Regions from separate parts of the Homo sapiens genome. Here all the other regions are linked to region 1. The links are contacts of gene promoters, found by promoter capture Hi-C in blood cells and fetal thymus (Javierre and others, 2016). All regions are on one chromosome and are shown on one strand. Each heading gives the region's core, a stretch centred on a gene start or on the middle of the fragment in contact. The rest is flanking DNA. Distances are from core to core; before and after follow the strand shown. Region 1 holds the start of ANKRD31 (ankyrin repeat domain 31). Region 2 overlaps LOC441087 (a long non-coding RNA gene). Region 3 overlaps POC5 (POC5 centriolar protein). Region 4 overlaps GFM2 (GTP dependent ribosome recycling factor mitochondrial 2). Region 5 overlaps NSA2 (NSA2 ribosome biogenesis factor). Region 6 overlaps POC5 (POC5 centriolar protein). Region 7 overlaps ANKDD1B (ankyrin repeat and death domain containing 1B).

The links. The method cuts DNA at HindIII sites, captures the fragments that hold promoters and counts their contacts. A CHiCAGO score of 5 or more calls a contact.
Region 2: a fragment that was not itself captured here is called in contact with the fragment with the promoter of ANKRD31 in region 1 in 1 of 17 cell types (naive B cells); the score reaches 5.7 in naive B cells.
Region 3: a fragment that was not itself captured here is called in contact with the fragment with the promoter of ANKRD31 in region 1 in 3 of 17 cell types (neutrophils, total B cells and naive B cells); the score reaches 7.6 in neutrophils.
Region 4: a contact is called between a fragment that was not itself captured here and the fragment with the promoter of ANKRD31 in region 1, in 2 of 17 cell types (naive CD4 T cells and naive CD8 T cells). The highest score is 6.0, in naive CD4 T cells.
Region 5: a fragment that was not itself captured here is called in contact with the fragment with the promoter of ANKRD31 in region 1 in 1 of 17 cell types (total CD8 T cells); the score reaches 5.5 in total CD8 T cells.
Region 6: a contact is called between a fragment that was not itself captured here and the fragment with the promoter of ANKRD31 in region 1, in 3 of 17 cell types (neutrophils, naive B cells and total B cells). The highest score is 9.1, in neutrophils.
Region 7: a fragment that was not itself captured here is called in contact with the fragment with the promoter of ANKRD31 in region 1 in 5 of 17 cell types (total B cells, neutrophils, naive B cells and 2 more); the score reaches 9.4 in total B cells.

What each region holds. Positions count from the first base shown.
Region 1 is chr5:75,235,419-75,238,229 of GRCh38, forward strand. ANKRD31 (ankyrin repeat domain 31) reads right to left here and starts at 1,460. Exons shown (of 26, transcript NM_001372053.1): 1 at 1,165-1,460. The coding sequence starts at 1,268. LOC124901006 (a long non-coding RNA gene) reads left to right here and starts at 1,620. Exons shown (of 2, transcript XR_007058823.1): 1 at 1,620-1,948. RefSeq lists an enhancer at 1,181-1,350 and a silencer at 1,401-1,700. The HindIII fragment of the contact is 5,895 bases long and covers 1-2,811 here.
Region 2 is chr5:75,726,071-75,728,881 of GRCh38, forward strand. All of the region lies in intron 2 of LOC441087 (a long non-coding RNA gene), which reads left to right. Among named protein-coding and RNA genes, the nearest start is that of POC5, 10 kb to the left of the region's middle. The HindIII fragment of the contact is 802 bases long and covers 999-1,800 here.
Region 3 is chr5:75,705,446-75,708,256 of GRCh38, forward strand. It overlaps POC5 (POC5 centriolar protein), which reads right to left. Exons shown (of 12, transcript NM_001099271.2): 3 at 2,292-2,430; 4 at 259-342. Among named protein-coding and RNA genes, the nearest start is that of POC5, 11 kb to the right of the region's middle. The HindIII fragment of the contact is 2,215 bases long and covers 356-2,570 here.
Region 4 is chr5:74,758,095-74,760,905 of GRCh38, forward strand. It overlaps GFM2 (GTP dependent ribosome recycling factor mitochondrial 2), which reads right to left. Exons shown (of 21, transcript NM_032380.5): 3 at 2,808-2,811; 4 at 1,275-1,332; 5 at 755-852. Among named protein-coding and RNA genes, the nearest start is that of GFM2, 7.6 kb to the right of the region's middle. The HindIII fragment of the contact is 4,143 bases long and covers 1-2,811 here.
Region 5 is chr5:74,775,399-74,778,209 of GRCh38, forward strand. NSA2 (NSA2 ribosome biogenesis factor) reads left to right here. Exons shown (of 6, transcript NM_014886.6): 6 at 1,206-2,811. The coding sequence ends at 1,273. FAM169A (family with sequence similarity 169 member A) reads right to left here. Exons shown (of 13, transcript NM_001376049.1): 13 at 2,176-2,811. Among named protein-coding and RNA genes, the nearest start is that of NSA2, 9.6 kb to the left of the region's middle. The HindIII fragment of the contact is 2,857 bases long and covers 1-2,762 here.
Region 6 is chr5:75,685,643-75,688,453 of GRCh38, forward strand. All of the region lies in intron 9 of POC5 (POC5 centriolar protein), which reads right to left. Among named protein-coding and RNA genes, the nearest start is that of POC5, 30 kb to the right of the region's middle. The HindIII fragment of the contact is 4,211 bases long and covers 1-2,811 here.
Region 7 is chr5:75,666,366-75,669,176 of GRCh38, forward strand. ANKDD1B (ankyrin repeat and death domain containing 1B) reads left to right here. Exons shown (of 14, transcript NM_001276713.2): 12 at 427-628. Among named protein-coding and RNA genes, the nearest start is that of POC5, 50 kb to the right of the region's middle. RefSeq lists an enhancer at 614-1,115. The HindIII fragment of the contact is 2,666 bases long and covers 229-2,811 here.

The sequences.
Region 1 (2,811 bases), core at 210-2,709:
ATTGGGGACTGAAGTTGAAATCTTAATAACAACCCATTTATTGACGAGTTTCAGTTTGTTTTCGGTTTTTTGGTTCTTTTTTGTCTTTCAGCTTTGAACCATCCAGTGGGCACAGACAGTAAACCTATTTTTATCCAGAAGACCAAGGAAAATGACCCCTGCATGCCAGAAGGTATAGGACAAAGCCCAGGGCTTTATGTTGCTTTCTCTCTCACCTCCCAGCCCTGCCCCAAGGCTGGCCCTAGCCTCAGAGCAGACACCAACCATGGCAACTGGGGAACATAAAACTCAAGAGAAAGTGTCTACCAGAGGAACTGGGAAAAGGGATCGGTATTGCCTGAAAAGTGTGGACAGAATCCCCCTTTTTTCTCTCTTTTCTTAACTCTGTGCTAAAGGCTGTCCCCCTTGTAAGGAACTGCTGTATAGTGAAAAGGCTAACACTCAAAGAAACCTGTCTTTCTGATCATATGAACTGGCAAGTGGGTATGATGAGGAAAGGGGGCAGGAGAATCCTGGAGAAGAGAGAGAGGGAAAGGAGAATGACCTAATTCTGTGTACGATCCAACTTAAGTCCCAGACACAGCCCTGAGCACATATGAAGCAGACCTAGTGGCCTCATCCCTGCCCTCTTTTCCCTGTGTCTAGCACAGAGAATATGTTAGAGAAAGGTTTCGATAACCTGAAATACCGACTTTTTTGGATTCGTATAAAACTATTCGTTTCCAGTTTGGCAGGGACCAGTTTCCCCATCACACATTCTTTTCTTGAGAGAAACTGTTACCCATTTTCCTAGAACTGAGCTACGAGTCTCTTGAAGCAAAATGAAGTCTCCTGAAACAAAATGCAGTTAAGTTCAGACCCAAGATCTTTTTTGCTTGTGCAAAAAGACTTAAAGCCCCCAAAAGGAAAGCCTTTTGAAAAATGCTATAAAGCCACCTAGTACAAACCTCATTTTATCCCTAGCTGGTTGGGGGTAGGTGGGAACAGACTGTGTTTGCTTATTTACAAGCTCTCAGCTCAGGCACGGCTGCCCCACAAGGCTCTGATCCTGCCCACAAGCACATGTTCTGGTCACGATCTCCACTCAAAACTCTGACCCCCTCAGAGGGCACCTGGGCCGCCCTGGCGCGAGGGTTCAGGCACTGTGGCCCTAATGATGGTCACCTTCTCCAGGGCAGCTCCTTTTCTTCCAGGTCGCTCTCCGTCACTGAACCCTCTATCACAGTTTCATCACTGTCCCAGTCTGGGGCCTGGACGCCTTCCTCCATCTTTGCCTCACATTCAAAGTCTTTTTTACCCTCCTCTAACTCCCTCTTGCCCGCAAACAAAAAAACGCTTTGAGGGCCAGGGGAAATTGTGAATTAAAAATAAAAATAATATAATCGCAGCAGGAGCCGGGACTTGTCGCAGGGCTGCTGAGGAGGACGCAGGCGGCCGCGAGCGCGGCGGGGTAGCAGTCTGCGAGGCGGCCCGCGGGTCCCGCCGCTCGTCGCAGACAGGGGGCAGCCGCTCGCCACACGACGGAGCCCTGCGCAGCGCTCGGCCCCGCCCCCAGCTCCCGTGGCCGGAAGTGGGAGGCCGCGCGCGCGCGCGCAGGCCTACTCTGGGCGTGGCCTGCCGCTGCGTGTTTTTTTCACGGTTTCTCATTCTCGGTCGCTAGGCTTTGAGGGTGCTGGGGTTGCTGCTGCAGAGACCAGAAAGGCAGGCGTGGCGCACCCAGAACTCAGACCGAGCCTGCTTAACACCCTTGGCCGGGAGGGTGACCTGCCATGCACCTGATGCTTGTGAGCCCCAGATACGGGAAGAGCTGTCAGCTCCTGCCCGCCCCAGCAGCCCTGGCATTCTGGAGCCAGAATGCGACCTTAGACCTAAAGAGAGTTTTTGCAGCCCACCAAGTGCTTCCTTTCCCTTTAATCCCTTGACAGCCTCTCCTCAAGTGTCCTCTGAGGTAGACAAAACAGATACGTTTATCAGAAGTTTTAGCTCATCAACTAATCTCAGTGATGTATTTTGCATTTTTTTTTTCTCTCAACAACGCTTTGGTTACCTGAAATACAGATTATGCAGGAAAGGCAGGATAAATGCTTTATTTTTTCCTCTTTTATCAATTTTTATAATAATAGTAATGCCTAGCAACCTCCAAAAGTAGTCAATTGCGTTTTAATGAAGTACTAGAATTTTATATATTTGATGTGTTTCAGTCTAGTTGAACATTTTTAATTCAAACTAATTCAAAACAAAGCCAAGTGAGCTTCCACTTGCCAAGTGAGAAGAAGATTCAAGAAAAGACCAAGTTGTTTTCCCATAGCAAGTGTTTAGTATTCACCTTGGAGTCTCCAGCATCTAGCACATATAAAGTCTAAGTTTTGTCATAAATGGATGGAGCTAGAGATTTCTGACTTCCCAATTCATTGCCCTTTTCACTATATGGAGTAGCTTTGCCATTATTATCATTATTATTATTTTGTGTTTTTACTATGTATATTCAAGCCACTGCTATTTAAAATGCTTGATTGGTGATTATCTTCTAAACTTAACTTGAGGCTGGGGGTGGTGGCTCTACCTGTAACCTCAATGCATTGGAGGCCGAGGCAGGAGGATTGCTTGAGACCAGAAGTTCAAGACCAGCCTGGGCAACATGGTGAGACCCCTATCTCTGCAAAAAATTTGTTTTTAATTAGCAGGGCATGGTAGCATGGGCCTGTAGTCCCAGCTACTCAGGTTGAGGCGGGAGGATCGCTTGAGCCCAGGAGTTTGAGGTTATAATGAGCTATGATTGAGCAAACGCACTCCAGCCTGAGCAACAGAGTC
Region 2 (2,811 bases), core at 150-2,649, 490 kb after region 1:
TGTTACAAACAATCCAATTACACTCTAGTTATTTTTAAATGTACAATTAAGTTATTGTTGACCACAGTCACCCTGTTATGCTATCAAATAGTAGGTCTTATTCATTCTTTCTATTTTTTTGTACCCATTAACTGTCCCCATCTCCCTTGCCAGCTCCTCAATACCCTTCCCAGCCTCTGCTAATCATCCTTCTATTCTCTATGCCCATGAGTTCAATTGTTTTGATTTTTAGATCCCACAGATAATTGAGAACATGCAATGTTTGTCTTTCTGTGCCTGGCTTATTTCACTTAGCATAATGATCTCCAGTTCCATCCATTTTGTTCAAATGATAGGATCTCATTCCTTTTCATGGCTGAATAGTACTTCATTGTGTATATGTACCACATTTCCCTTATCCATTCATCTGTTGATGGACATTTAGATTGCTTCCAAATCTCAGCTATTGTAAGCAGTGCTGCAACAAACATGGGAGTGCAGATATATCTTTGATATACTGATTTCCTTTATTTGGGGTATATACCCAGCAGTGGGATTGCTGGATCATATGGTAGCTCTAGTTTTAGTTTTTTTGAAGAACTTCCAAACTCTTCTCCATAGTAGTTGTACTAATATACATTCCCACTAATAGTGTACAAGGCTTCCTTTTCTCCACATCCTCACCAGCATTTGTTATTGTCTATCTTCTGGATATAAGCCATTTTAACTGGAGTGAGATGATATCTTTGTGGTTTTGATTTGCATTTCTCTGATGATGAGTGATGTTGAGCACCTTTTCATATACCCGTTTGCTATCTGCATGTCTTCTTTTGAGAGATGTCTATTAAAATATTTTGCCTATTTTTGATTAGATTATTAGATTTTTTTCCCATAGAGTTGTTTGAGCTCCTTATATATTCTGGTTATTAATCCCTTGTCAGAGGGGTAATTTGCAAATATTTCCTACCATTCTGTGGGTTGTCTCTTCACTTTGTTGATTATTTCCTTTGCTGTGCAGAAGCTTTTTAACTTGATGTGATCCATTTGTCCATTTTTATTTGTAAACCTTTATGGTGAACTCTGATGAAGAAATGTGCTATTTTATATAAATGTTTATGTTTAACTTTGATGAAGAAATGTACTATTTTATGTTGCAGAAGCACAGCCTTCTGTTGAATGATCTTTTAGAAGGAAGTCCCTTTCCTGTCTTGAGTCTTCATAGAATTAGCTTGCTTTCTTCTAAAAATATCTGCCCATCACTCTTATTTAGAATTCTTCGTTTTCTGAGACTGTTCATATATTAGGATGTTCTTTCCCCAGACTCCCTGTTTTTTCGTTTGCTCCTAATAAAGAATAGACTGTCTCTTCATTGAAAGATTTTTTAAAAAACATAAATAAATTATGATAAATAGATTGGAGTATAAAAACCAATCCGTTTGTATAAGTTACAAAAGTTCCTGAAGTGTCAAAAACCCTCATAGTAATTATTAATCATTTTCAATTTCCTGAGTTCTCTTCTGAGGTGGTAGATACTGACTCCAGTTTTTAGTTTGCGAATCAGCTTATATGTCTGGTGTATGTGCCAAACTAGTCTTACTGTAGCCTGGAGTTGATACAAGTTAGTTTTATGGATAGGTCTGAGAGATGGTCCCTTTGAGAATGTCCTTTCAGTTTCTACCTTGCAGGAATGGGTTATTCTTACCCCCATATGTTTCATTCCATTTTCCTCCCCTATGTAAACTTCCCCTCACCCAACATTGCTTGGGTCTCCTGTGTTCCCTAGTGTGCATCAAACTAACCTGTGTTGACCTAAAAGGAAGAAGCTTAAGCAAAATTAATATAAGTAGAGAGTTAATTTGGGCCAAGTTTGAGGATTGCAACCTGGAAGCATAGATTCAAGTTGTCCTGAATATACATTCCAGATAATAGCAGTTACAAGTAGATTTTTAAAGGCAGAAAGAGGGGGCAGGGAGTGGGCTGATACAAAGTCATCTGTCAGGAATTCTCATTGGTTTACAGAAATAACATTGACTGGTGATTGGCTAGACGTTGTTAAACTATAGGGTGTTGTTTATAGTGTCCGGTGTGGCATTAGGTTAATTTATAGCAACTTGTGGCAGTAGCAAGCAGTTTCAAGAGTTGAATACATAGCTCAAAGAAGGGAGTAGGGTGTGATTGCTGTCTCATTTCAATGCCTCTCTGGGCCTAATAATTTGAAAAGGCTTACATTCCTCAGATCAACCTTTTTTTTTCTTTCCTCACCTTGACAGTTTACTAGGACATGGGTTGCTGGGCTTCACTTTGGGAGTTTCTGATTAAGCAGGTTTGAAGTTGGGCCCAAGAATGTGCATTTCAAACAAGTTCCCGTGTGATATTGATGCTTCTGGCCACAGGGCCGCTTTGCCCTAGGTCAATTAGGGTCCTAGCTTCTAGCAAGAGCAGTATTCTCTGTGGCTCTAAGCTTCAGCATTGTTCACCCTATCACAATCAGGCCTCTCTGTAACTTTGCTCTAGACACTCCAAGCTTCATAGCTGGTTCCCTGGAGGTTGAAGTCAATTTCCTACTTAAACCCCAAAGACACTTTTCCAGACTTCTGATTGTAGAGTCCAGTTCTGACAGCTGTGCACGTTGGAAGTCTCCAGGGTTCTGGGCTTTTCAAGTCTCAACCTCTCTTCATTCCGGTTCCCTCTATTCGTTTCAGTTGCCAGCAAATACACCCCACTGAAGCTTAGCTTTTCACCTCCTCTTCTAAGTAGCACCTAATCCTAATTCATTCATGATGGGTGTGTGATCCTGAGAGCCATTTAGTATTTCATCTTTTCCCTCCATAG
Region 3 (2,811 bases), core at 213-2,712, 470 kb after region 1:
TTTTAAAAGACTTGCCCTCTAACTTAGCAATTTTAAGAAAGGATACTACACACTATAATGCATTGACCTGTCTTAATTGTACTATTTTGGTATCTTATCAAATTATTTTAAATATTATCACTTAAATTAGCAATAATAGCATTTTAAAATCCTGCTAATAAATAATATGCTGAAATTATTCCTCTTACTACATAGATAATATTCATCAAACCACAAAATGTTGTATATTAATACAAATAAGCTAAAGAAAAATCATACCATCTGTCTTTGAATGACTTGAAATATGGAAATCACATCCTTTTCCAACTTCTATTGCAGTTTCTCTTACTTCAGAGTTATTTCCTGCCAAAAAGAAAGCTTTTTAAAATTAAACTGAACCACTCTTAAATAAAATGTCTAATCACACATAATTTAAGAAGGTAGCAGTACATAATATTTTAGAACAAACAAAATACAACATGCTGGGGATATAGGAACACTAAAACAAAGGACAAGAACAGATAAAAATCTGAGACTAGAAAAAGACTTACTATATCATTGATAAGCTCCAACTTATGCACCAAATATAGATGAGAGATAATGTAGTCTACTATAGCATTCAATTCACACTAAGAGAATAAGTGGGTGAATGACATTAGAACTTAGAAAAGGATCTGCTCTCTTATGACACTGGGTATTTCCAGAGGCCCGCTGCTTTTCACTAGCCACAATCAAACTCAAGTGGCACTGGCTCCCCCAAAACATTTGCTTCCACTTCAGGAACCTGTAGTCAACAGATGGCAAAAAGGAAACTGGGAAAAACCTCTCAAGAATGACTGTTAGAGGCTTACACATACTTTGCCAATTTCCACATACCATGCCTTCTATCAAGCAACTGAGATACCAAGAATAAAGAGAATGTGGGATGATGAATTTACATAGAAGACTTTAACAAAGTCTACTTGTGAATCAAGATGACTAAAGGATATCTAAACTTACTATATAACGTATGTTTTAATCTCAAATCCTTTTTGGAAATGGCAGAGAATAAATAAATGCTATCTTACATAAGAGAAAAGAACAATGGTCTTAAATCCCAGATGATTACCTTGAACTGTTGACTACAGCATCTCGAAAGTTTTTTCTTTTTTTTTTTTTAAACAGAGTCTTGCTCTGTTGCCTAGGCTGAAGTGCAGTGGCATAATCATGGCACACTGCAGCCTTGAACTCCTGAGCTCATGCAATCCTCCCACCCCAGCCTCCCAAGGTGCTGGGACTATAGGCTGCTCTGCCCGGCTAATTTTTTTGTAGAGCTAGGGTTTTGCTATGTTGCCTAGGCTTGTCTCAACCTCCTGGGCTCAAGCAATCCTCCTGCCTCAGCCTCTGAAAGTACTGGCATTACAAGCATGAGCCACTGCCTGGCCTGTATTTTAAGGCTCTCATCCTGTGGTCCTGTTTGTTGTTCCACTGCAACAGGCCAAAGACAGAGGAACAGTGAAAAATCCACGTCTACAGAGAATGAGAGACAACAGACACTAGAGCTATGACTTAGCAGAAGCCCAGGAGCCTTTGGCCTCTGAGTAGGCTATGTCATGCGCCTTCAAGGACAGGGATCCTTGGAGTTACGCCTATAGTGTGATAACTGGTCCTTATCAGGACTGTTTTAGGAAGGCTTTCTGTGCCCTTTGAAAGAACATTTATTTAGAGTTTGGGATGTTGTCTTCACCTGAATAAGGAATGGAGGTAAAAGGAGCTTTATCCTCTTTTCTCCACTTTTCACTCATCTATCAACACACATCCTGGTTTATAGTAGCTTTCAGTTCTGTTGCTGACATGGTCCACAGATGGGTTCACCTTGTGATAATTATTCAAACAGTCCTCCATGCCCATATAAATACTGCTGATAAAGCACTAGCATGAGGTTTGTAAAGTAATTTAAGAGACTCTCAGGGTTACCATCTTTAATTTTAGTCTTGGGCATTTAGTTTTCAGGTTAATCCTGGCATAAAACTGTTGGAACAAGTACTGAGATACAACATACCAAAAAGCCATGCAGTTGCCATAGCATTGCTTCAACTTTATTATTCTTCATAAAAGTAAGAGTCAAATGAAGTTCAAAGAAAAATCAAGCTGTCACACGAGAGTCAGGAATAATATATTAAAATGTAAAAAGCTCCCCTAGATGATACTAATACACATAAATGGTTGAGAAGAATCACTGATCTGGACAGGCATTTTCACAATCCTGTCAGTATCATTAATAAACTCAGTAATATTTTAAATTAAGAGATATCTTGAAAAATATATATAACCTTGACTATGAAGAATATCATGAATTGTAGAAATTCTGACATCTGGCACCAATTCTCCCTTAGGATGAGATGACTGTGAAGCACAGGGTTCAATATTTGGAGTCACTATAGCATAATGAAGCAGTTCTTCATATTCTTCCTAAGAGAGGCCAATAATCAATAATGTAGTGTAACAGTTACAATGTTATAATATATTCAACTGAATTTGTTTTAAAGAAATTTAATTACCATAATAGAGTCCCATGCTTATTATATTACAAAGTTTTACCACTTATTCCAAGCTTGAGTTCCTCGAGTGCTTCTTGTGTGATTTTTATATTTATGATTAACAGTTTGAAGAGGGCTGGGTGCAGTGACTCATGCCTGTAAACTCAGCACTTTGAGAGGCTGAGGCAGGAGGATGGCTTGAAGCCTGAGCAACAAAGTGAGACCTCATCTCTACAATAAATTTTTTACAAAAATTTGCTAGGTGTGGTGGTGTGTGCCTGTAGTTGTAGCTACTCAGGAGGCTGAGGCAGGA
Region 4 (2,811 bases), core at 143-2,642, 480 kb before region 1:
AACTACAATTTAAAAGACAAAAGATAACTTGGTTAAGGATTAACAAAATCCTCTTTGATGTGAGAATTTAACTTCTGGTTACTTTTTTTGGTTCTTTTCTTCTAGAAACCAGATAACAGAGGTATGTCAACTACATTCCTAGGCAATATAACTTATGGAAAAAACAACTTCTGATTGGTAAACTAAATCTGAATTGCGAAGAACTATAAATGAATTATATATATAAGTACCTTATGGAGATACCGAACTCTGGGCTTCCCTGTGTATGGCATGTACCTTAGGTGACACCTGGAAGCTATGCCTATGAAGTTATAACAAGAGACATTCATTCCTATGGGGCATGAATCTTCTAAGCTAGGGTGGCTCCTATGAATCTTGTCACCTTGCATCTAATCCATTACTCTGGAGCAGCCAAAGAAGATAGCTCCCAGATAGCTACGGGGACTGCTATAAGGACTCTACTAGAAAGAAACACCTAATGCTGGTCTGTTGGTAAGCTGTGGTTCCTGTCCTGTAGCATTCTGAGTAGACGAGTGTCCAGTGGGGCCTATGATAGTCTTACAAGTCTGAATATTTAGTTGAATCTAAGAAGACCCTTTGGTGGGTATTGCAACTATCTTATCTTTAAATTGTGGATTAGACATCAGTAGCTCTATGCCATATTCAAGGTGTGTAAGTTGACTTGTTAACCAAAATATTTTCCAATGATGCTTTTGCTAATGGGGGGGTGGGAAGAGGAGGAATCCATTCTAACCTCCCAGTGATCTTGTATATCCGGAATAGTACAATATTCTTTCTGTGGTGGTAGTTTTGCCTGCATCAATATGAGCCATAATTCCAATATTACGGATTCTGTTTAAAAGGAAAAAATAAGGTAAACTTTACTAAAATTGTAAAACCAAAGTATATATGCTATCCAAATTTCAAAGCTGGTATTTCTATAATTTATAAAACTGTGTAAAAACTAGAAAAATGGAAAACATTTAGAGTATATCCACATTACTCTGATAAGATAGCTAAGTAACAAAAGGGCTAACTACAACCTACAATTTTGAGACTATCTTATATTCATTCTAGAAAAGTGTGCTGTTGTTACATTAAAAATTTTTAGCATTAATTGAGAAAAAATAGCTAAGATACATTATCAACATCTACTTAAAATTGGCTAGGGCAGAAAGTCATAGAAATTACAGCATTCACTCTTGTCCATCAGAAAAAACCTGTAAATTTTCGTGACAGTCTATGGAAAAGCATGATATAATGATAGTACTTACTTAGCTATGGGAGGATTGATGATGGAATGAAGGGATTTGATATCATTTCCTATTAAGCCTAATGAAAAGAAAGTTAAAATTGAACTGTTACATTTATGAAATTTTCCTTTAATTTATAAATGAAAGACTTTAAAATAACTTTAAGCAAATACTGTAAGTCCAAATAAAGTAAAATTCAAGCTAAATAAATCTAAAATAAACTAAAATTTATTTCCTTGCAATGTATAAGGAAAGCTATGGATGACAATAAAACAAGGTAAAAGTTTTAAACATCAAGTTCTAGATCATATCCTCAGAAAAATACAGATTCACCCCAATCTCTGCCACCTACTTCACTTCCATTTACAAAATTGTAGAACTAGAATAAATGCTCATAATAATAATCTTAAGGCAATGATCCTGAATCAAAGAAAAAATTTTAAATGCACAGTCCTATAAACCTGCCTTTTCCAGGGTTTGAAGAGCTAAGAGTGATCCTCATGTCAGCTGATAATGAATTATTATACAATTTGGAACTTGCCTTCCTCAGCAATCCCAGGACACAATACCTTTAAAGACTGCCTGGGAGGTTTCACTGAATAGAAGCTATAACAATTTAATACTTTTGAAAGGCCAAGCAGTATTTCTTAAATAAAAAAGTCCATATGGCTTATTCTATGCTTAATATATAGTTTACTAATATTAAGAAGTAATTTCTAAAGAAACAAGGCAGTTACATTTGTAAATTTAATTAAAGCCTTCCTGTTATTTAAACCATTTCTCCCATGTTTCTATAATACAAAAAGGAGAATTTTATATTATTTTTGAAACTTCATGGTGGTTTGAAGATCAAAAGATAATCTATACTACTACAGTTAAATTCATATTAGCCAAATTCAGAGACCTAGATACACACCAATAACGTAGCCCATTAAATTAATCTGCCCTTGTAAGTCAACAGCCAATCAGTATTTTTATTCTATTATTCTCACATGACAAACACAGTAATGAGAACAGCAACAGAATTAAACTAGTTTCATAGAGTCTACCATACACTTGCTTGTTTCAAACACAGAAAGGACATTCAAAAGTAAGTCAACTCCTCCACCTTCCAGCTTCTGATGCCATGTATCTAACCTAAACAATCCCAAATACTTAGCCAAACTACTTATAACAATCCTCAAAATAAATTATTCTAGTAAATCTCTCTTGACAGAAAACACTTGCATAAAAAACAGAAATAAACTAGAAAAAGAAATTCACAAGAGCACTCTACAATTACACTCACATGTTAAACTTGCAAACTAGCTACTAAAGCCACCAACCTTTCCTTTGCTCAGTTCATCAGCGTGTTCCTCAGATAAGGAGCACAACTCTACTAGTATTTCCTTCTGGCACCTATCTGAACACTCCCGCCCCTAATAATCTCAAGGAAATAGCCAAGAAGTAAAAAATGGTTACAGAGCCCTAATAAGGGAGATTCTTGCAAACAAGAGAGAGAAAAGAGATAAAGCAAACAGCTTAGATAAAATTAGAAGACTCTAACATTTGTACCTGG
Region 5 (2,811 bases), core at 84-2,583, 460 kb before region 1:
TGAGACTGGAGTTGGAGACCAGCCTGGCCAACATGACAAAACGCCGTCTCTACTAAAAATACAAAACAATTAGCCAGGTGTGGTTGTGGGTGCCTGTAATTCCAGCTACTCGGGAGGCTGAGGCAGGAGAATCACATGAACCTGGAGCTTGCAGTGAGCTGAGATCATGCCACTGCACTCCGGCCTGGGAGACAGAGCAAGCCTCCATCTCAAAAATAAGTAAAATAAAAATATTTTGATCTTTTTTAATAAAAATTCTTTATTACAAGGGAAGCAGATGCAAAGTTATAACTAAAAAAAATTGTAAAAAAAAAATAGAATAAATTAACCATGAGCCGAGGGAGGCATACAACATATAATCACACTAGATCAGTAATAATTAAAACAGAAATGTGTCATGCAGTAATTTTAAACGCCCTCATTTGCTTAGTTTTCTACCTTTAGTACCCAGATCCAATTTCTTTGAAAGGGAAGAATACACGCTACAACTTCTTCAGTCATTGGTTTATACTTCATGTCAGCTGACCTCAGTTTTAAAATATGTTGTTACCTTGACTTGAAACTCATTTGAAACTTGATACATTTTCCAGGAAGAATTATGTGAAAAAGTGACAATGCTCAGGTCAATCCACAAAAGCCTGTTAATGCAATGTACTAATAACATGGAGCTGGCCATTATTTGCAAAAACACTATTTGTATGAAAATTGTATTCAGAACTCAAATTTGTCCTTAAATGATTGAATTTTGTAAAATCTCATTTATCCTTTATGGTTCATTTCTTATTTATTGAAAGTGGTAATTAGAAATATTTTAGGCATGGCTGGGCGCAGTGGCTCACACCTATAATCACAGCACTTTGGGAGGCCAAGGCAGGCGGATCATTTGAGCTCAGGAGTTCGAGCCCAGCCTGGGCAACATGGCAAAACCACATCTCTACAAAATACAAAAACAAAAAAATTAGCCAGGCAGTGGCGTGTGCCTGTGGTCCCAGCTACCCGGAAGACTGAGTGAGGAGAATCGCTTGAGCCCAGGAGGCAGAGGTTGCAGTGAGCCAGATCACGCCACCACACTGCAGCCTGGGGAATAAGAGTGAAACCCTGTATTAAGACAAAAAGAAAAAAAAGGCAAAAGTTATATTCTTTAAAATTAATTTTTATTAGCTAACAACCCTCCCTTTTCCCTTTTTTGGTTTTGTTTTCCTTAGGAAAATATGCCCAGGTTACCAACAATCCTGAAAATGATGGATGTATAAATGCAGTCTTACTGGTTTGACAGCAATTTCATATATAATTATTGAGGACTACACACCAATTGAAGAAACTGCCATTACTGTGATGTTTCTGAATACTACCAAACAGCCATACATGTCTGCAATGAAGAGATTTATTAAATTGTAAACATTAAAGTGGTCCAGTTTTATAAATGGTCTTTATTTTGAAATACGCTTTGACCCCATGTTCATAAAACTGAATGATTGAAAAAAAGCAAATATACAAATATCCTACTTCATCAATATCTGCATTTGTGAGTGGGTATTCAGCAATTTCCTGAAAAAACCACCAGTGTTCATTGAAAATGCCTTTCAAAAAGGTTAATACACAATTATGTGTCTGAGAATTTAACTGAAGTATCTTCAAAATCTCGTTAATCATTAATCCTAAAAAAGGTAGGTAGCATTAATACAGATGTTAAGTTTATAGTGTTTGTTTACACTAGAAGTATGTGAGAAGACACTAAAAGTTCAGAAATCTTAGAGAAATCTTTTCACCTGTGAAATCCAGTACAGCAAAGGTCTAGTGAATTCACATTCTAAACATTTTTTTCATCTCATTTACCATGTATAATAATACCTACTTGGCACTATTTTCTACTTGAATCATGAAAATGAAAAAAATATACTAAAGTCTTTGTACTCTCTTAGCATTTTCTGTATTCTAAACAATATATTTATACTTTCAGAATAGTATTAAGAATTAGTTTAAGTAACTCCAGCTAAGTTTTAAAAGGAAAAAGAAGACTGCACTGATTCCCTGAGGAGAAATTTATTTGCAGTTACTTAGATGATGTAAAAAGGTAAGGATTTACGGTTGTAACTTGGTGAAAGCACTTTTGTGATCTGTTATATGTTGTGGTTTTAAGGATGGCGTATATTACATTAATCTATAATCACCACATTGTTTTAAATTGTTTATTTTTTTTTTAAAGAAGTCTGTCTTCAGAGTACAACCAATGTGATTAATTGTGCCTTTAACAAAGTCATTCAATGTCTAAACAAATTCAGTATCTGAAACATCTTCATGAGGAAAACTGAAGGAAAGGAATTTAAAAACACAGACCAGGAAACAATCACAAAATATAGGTTTAATTACTACTTTTAAACTTAAAAAAAAATAAAAACCAAGAAAACAAACATAGGTACTCCAGTAAGACTTGCTACTCTGAATAATGTAACATTTTTTCTAAGTTCTATAAATATATACTGGAAGTTTTAGAACACATACAGACGCTTAGGAAAAGAAAGGCTAGTTCCTTGGAAATGACGATCCAGGATGATACAATCACTTGATGACAGAAGGTAAGCCTTTCTTACAATTAGATTTTAGCAGATAATTTTACCACTAATATAAATGGGTGATGTGTGGATCACAAGTTCTAGAAGGCGAATAAAAATACTGACTCCAGGTAATTTCTGGATACTACAAAAATGAAGTTTGCTTGTTTTTTTTAGAACCAAAAATACTATCTTGTAAGGTACAAAGAAAGCTTGATATTAAGTATGAAAACATAAGCATAACATTTGTAACTAATCA
Region 6 (2,811 bases), core at 81-2,580, 450 kb after region 1:
TATTAACTGGTTAATGTCAGCATTAACCACTAAAAACTTCAGACTACTTCCTTCCACATGTGAAAGCTAATGGATCATTTGTTCTTAAATAAAAGATGAAAATAAATTATGTACTCAGCTGGGACCTTAGCTAAGTAGAGTATATTGCCATCACAACTGTCACAAAAAATATGATCACAGTGAGCCTGGAGATCTAGGTTCCTTTGTATTAGTTCATACAAATATCCTGATAGATGGCCAAAATGACCTGCAATCAATCTTTAGAACCACTTTCTGATATCACTATACTCCCTCATTTTCATGTATTGCGCCTATCCTAACAATTTATTTTTGTTCTTGAGTCGTCAGAAAACAAAAATAAATCAATAAAACTAAAATCTTCACTTTTTACACTGTAAAAGAAATGGGTTCTTGCAGATAAATTATATAAATCATAAGAGCATATTTGTGCACCTAACTGATTTGTAGTGACACCCCAATCACTAACCTTCCCTCAAAACTGAACCTTAATCTTGATCTAAGGAGCCAATAATGTCAAATTCCAGGGCTAGTACAAAGGGTTTCTTCCAATTTTAGATGTTTTCGCTCCAGTATTATAATTTGGTTAGTTTCTGCTTAAGACTGTATCTGTGTGGTATCAAACAGTGTGGTGAGGGTTTAGAAATTCAGTCAATGAGCTGTTTCAGAACATCTGAACAGAGGGCATTATGTAAGTTGTATGTTTAAATGGTTTTCTATGTAGTTCTCTTTCCCTCCAGAAATTTGGGCCTCTGCATAAGTCCTTTCCTTAGACTATCTGTATAGAAAATTTGCAGAGTATTAGTTAGTTAGCTTATTTAAGAAGTTTAACAATGATTACAGTGCCTACCTAGATCCTTTGAACTCCTCTGATGAAAGGGACTAATTCAATATAAAATACTTTTAATTTGAAAACAAAACACACACTGAGTTTTAACTTGTTTTGGTAGAGATTCTGAGTGTCTATCTTTAGATGGTGGCAGACATTAGGAGATGTAGAAACAGTATGAAGGTCAGGGAAGAGAGGCAGGTGATCAACTCTTGCTAATATAGGCTGATATCAGATAACTCTTAAGTTTAATAATTAATCTCATTTTAGCTGGAATAAATTTTTCACTTGTCAAGTATTTTTTTTTACTGTGCCTAATTGGCACAGTAAAATTGGCAGATATAATTTTAAGGACTTTTTGTCATGTTCTAACTTCTTCATAAAAACCTCTAATTTGTAAGATTTAAGATACTGCACAACATGAGAGGTACTGCAAATTACAGACAGCAAAGAATCGGTACAAATAAAAAACCAAATATTTATTTTGCTCTAACAAGACAGATGCATTAGGAACTTTACATTATTAAAAACTGCATTATAAAAAACAATTTTTTTTTTTGTGAGATAGTCTCGCTCTGTCGCCCAGGCTGAAGTGCAGTGGCATGATCTCAGCTCACTGCAACCTCTGCCTCCTGGGTTCACGCCATTCTTCTGCCTCAGCCTCCTGAGTAGCTGGGACTACAGGTGCCTGCCACCACGCCCGGCTAATTTTTTGTATTTTTAGTAGAGACGGGATTTCACCATGTTAGCCAGGATCGTCTCGATCTCCTGACCTCGTGATCCACTCACCTCGGCCTCCCAAAGTGCTGGGATTACAGGTGTGAGCGACCGCGCCTGGCCTATAAAAAACAGTTGTTTTAATAGAAGGGGGCCAAAAGTAATTTTTTTTTCTTATGAGAACTAAAAAAAATAGGTGTCATTAAAATGTCATAAAACCTAAATATCACAAAGCAGATCCACTGAATTATACTGAACTTTTTTGCCTTTGGTAGCTCTACCAACATTATTGCTAATGCATGCTTTACCATTCTTGTCATCTTTCTCATCGATTGTTTCAAAAGTAACAGGAGCAAAAGAAATCATGTTGTGTAATTAGCAGAAGACATTTTCTTCAAATCCTCTTATGGATATTGGCCTTTAGGAGACACAGTTGCATTTCAATTTACATTTTAAGATGGTAAATGTATTAAGGTGGGAAATACTCCTAAGTCAATTCAAAATCTTTTTAAGTAGGTTATAAGAAACAGGTTTCTTGTAATTTAATGTAAGAAGTTCTAATAGGAATTTGTCACTTTACTTGTGAAACTCATATTTCTCCCAAGTAAACAATTAAATTTCTCAATTTGTGACACACAACTTGCTGATACTTAGAACTGAAACAGACTATTCTATCATTGAAGGTGGTGAGTTTGTTTTCAACCCTGATACTCAAATAAAAGACCATTTATTGGAAAAATCAAGTACTCACCTAGGTATTACCAAAATAAACTATTCAGCCTTGAGATTCCATGATTCTCAGTTTCTAAATTAAATATGGCCCACAAACCACAACCACTTCAGATAGAAAGCAATTTGCCTAAACTTACTCCTATCCACAATATGCATGCTTTAAATAATAAATGTTTGTTGATGTTTTAAAATAAGGGCATCACAAGCACAGAGAAGTTATTCATTGGATTGAAATCATGTTAATCATTTACAAAATCTTGAGACGTTGACTTGAATTAAAACTATTAATAATTACATCATGACTATCATCTTACACGTTAAAGTGCATTTTGTCTTTTAAAGTGTTTTCAGATATGTTTTACTGCATCCCACAAGAAGCCCCTAGGAAGCAGGTAAGGAAGGTTTATATTATCTCCTTCGCTCAGAGAAGAAATCTAAGGCCGAATGAGGAAAACAGGCCCCTGGGTAAATTGGTGGCAAAGGATTCTAGTTATGGGCTTTTCTACGCCATGCTG
Region 7 (2,811 bases), core at 312-2,811, 430 kb after region 1:
TTAAGGATACAGCCAATCTGGGCTCACCGAAGCTTCAATATGAGAACATCAAATACCCAAAAGAAGAAATGGGGGTATGGGTTCAAACAAAGGCCATTAAAGATGGTTTTGTTGTTGTGACACATCCTTTGCCAAGACAGCCTCTCTGTTCTCATTCTCTGTTCTAAGCAGCATGGGACACAATAGGCAAAATCCCTCACATTTCCTGTGTCAGACAGACGGTACCCAAGCTTTTAATTTCAAGCATTTATTTCCATTTTGGATGGCAAAAAAAAAAAATATATATATGATCCAGTGACAGGAGGCATTGAAAACATAGTCTCGGTTACCACCTTACTAGTTATGTTTGAAAAACATATATACTCTGAAATAAGGTAATAAGTAGAACATGTCTGAAATCTTCTGATACAATTATTTTCACTTTAGGAGCATCATGAGAGCATCAGGGACCCGTCAACAGGCTTTACTCTGACATTCAAGCAAGATCACAGTCTGGAGACCAGACACATTCGCACGCTTCTCTGGGACCTGGCTTACCATCAGCTGAAGGCCAATGAGTGGCAGAGGCTGGCCCGTTCGTGGAACTTTACAGATGACCAGATTAGAGCCATTGAGGAGCAGTGGTCGGGTGAGTACAGACTAGATGATGTGGGCAGGAGGAATTCACTGTTAGGAACAGCAGTGCCTCCTGGTGTGAGGTCTTCCAAGGAAGTGTGTGGCACTCACAATAAGCTGCAGTCTTCAAGGGGCCCAGGAATAGGGGCAGTTAGCTTAGGTCCACACCAGTGATTTGGGCATTAAGATTTGCAGAAAGTGAACACTCATGGTCTGCAGTAAACCGAAGTTTGTAAAGGATGATTATGTGTATTGACCCATATCAGACATGTGCATTTAGCCTAGAGAGACAGTAAGATTCCCAACTGGACGGTCACTAAGGAAGCAAGCAAGGATTTAACAGTTGGTGTGTCAGTGGGAAGCCAATCTGATTTCTATGTTCCTTGAGACTGTCCTGGGGTGAATGGGTTCATTCTGTAATCAATAGGCTCGCTGTTTAAGTCTGCGCTCCAGAAAGAGGAATTCCTTAAAGCAGGTGGGTGTAGGAGAAAGGGTTGTTGTAGGACACTGCCTTAGGGGAGACTTGGCTGTGCCATGAGCGACACGGCAAATACAGACTCAGAGGGCTTTCTTGGCTAGATGATTCCAAGCAATGGAATCATTTCAGCTGGACTCAAACTGTCATAATTAGTGAAGTCAGGTCAGCTAGATTCCTTAATTTTGTTTTTTGTGGTTAGACGAAAACCTAGGAAACATAGAAAGTTTACTTGGCATTAATCAACTAATTAGCTTTGAAAACAATGAAGCAAACATGTTTCTTGGCAAAGTTTTCTATTCAGAGCACTGCCCTCTCATGGACATCCTAAGACGAGAAGGTGTCCTTGCTCAGGGGTCTATTTGTATTAGGGATTGCTGGGAACTGGGGATGGCAGAAGCACAGTCCATGAGCACACACTATTTATACCACATACAAGTAAATTATGAGACTTTGTATTGCACATTCTTAGGATACATTTTCATGTGAAAAATAGAAGATAATGTATTGAAAACATTGAATACTAACTAGTTTCTAACTAGAAAAATTTTTTTATTGTTAAGATTTCTTTTTTGTCATTAATTAGGCTTATAGTGTTCTGTGAAGTCTTTAGGAAAATTGAGTTGCCTCCTGGAACTCTAACTTGACCTAAAGAGATGACTTGAAAATATAGTGTATCTTCAGAGTACTTGCCAGCAGGATAAGGGGGATTTTAAAGTGTTTCGATGGAACCTTTATGGAGGGCCTGGAGTGTTTATTTCTGCTGGATGAGGGATAGATACATCAGCTCTCTAAGCCATGCATGTTTGATGGAGTTTATAATCTAGTTGGCACAATAACAATGACACTTGCAATTCAATTATATTGTGATCCAGGGTAAGGTTACTGGCACTGGGGAGTTTGTGGGCTTTTGATCAAAGGAGTGACAGACTCATGATGGTATTTAAGAAAAATTAGTTTGTCAAGAGCAAGATTAGGAAAGGAACAGAGGACTTGTCCAGGAGTACATTCTGTAAGTATGCAGTTCCCTCTCCCTGAAATGCCCGCTTCTCCATATCAGTCTGTCCAGTGAACTTCTCCCTCACCCCTGCAGAGCTCAGGCCCTTCCCTTGCACAGCATGTCTGCTCCTGCACACTCTCTCTCAGAGCAAGGAGCCTGTAGTGAAGTCCTGTTGGGAACCACAGAGGCTTTGTGGCTCCCTATCCCGGTACTTCCCCCAACACCTCTCTAGGCTGAGATATGCAGTGAGTATTTATCAAATGAATAATCCTGGCCCAGGGATGCAAACTTCCCTCAGAGTAGCTTCCTTGAGACTGGAGTGGCAGAATGAATGGTGCATGCTTGCTGCTCAGAGTGGGGAATATGGAGCAGCAGTGGCAGCAGCACCCGGGAGTTTGTTAGATGCATGGATTCTTACCCCAGACCTACTGAATCCAAACTTGCATTTTAGTAAGATACCCAGGTGAAATAAGCACTGTGAGTTTGAAGAGCACTGGTCTATGAGAAGTTGCATATTTCATTAAAATTGTTCCCCCTGGGCAGGCACCACAGCTGTCCTCTCTCTTGTACACTCCTTTGGGTGTGTGCCAAGCATAGCAGGTGCATAGCACAGGCTGGAGGGAAAGCAAATGCTGGTCATCATAAAGCAGCACAGCGAGGGCAACTGGAAGGGCTTTTTTCGAAGAGGAACAGGCAAGCAAACAGTCATTCAGAAAGTTTA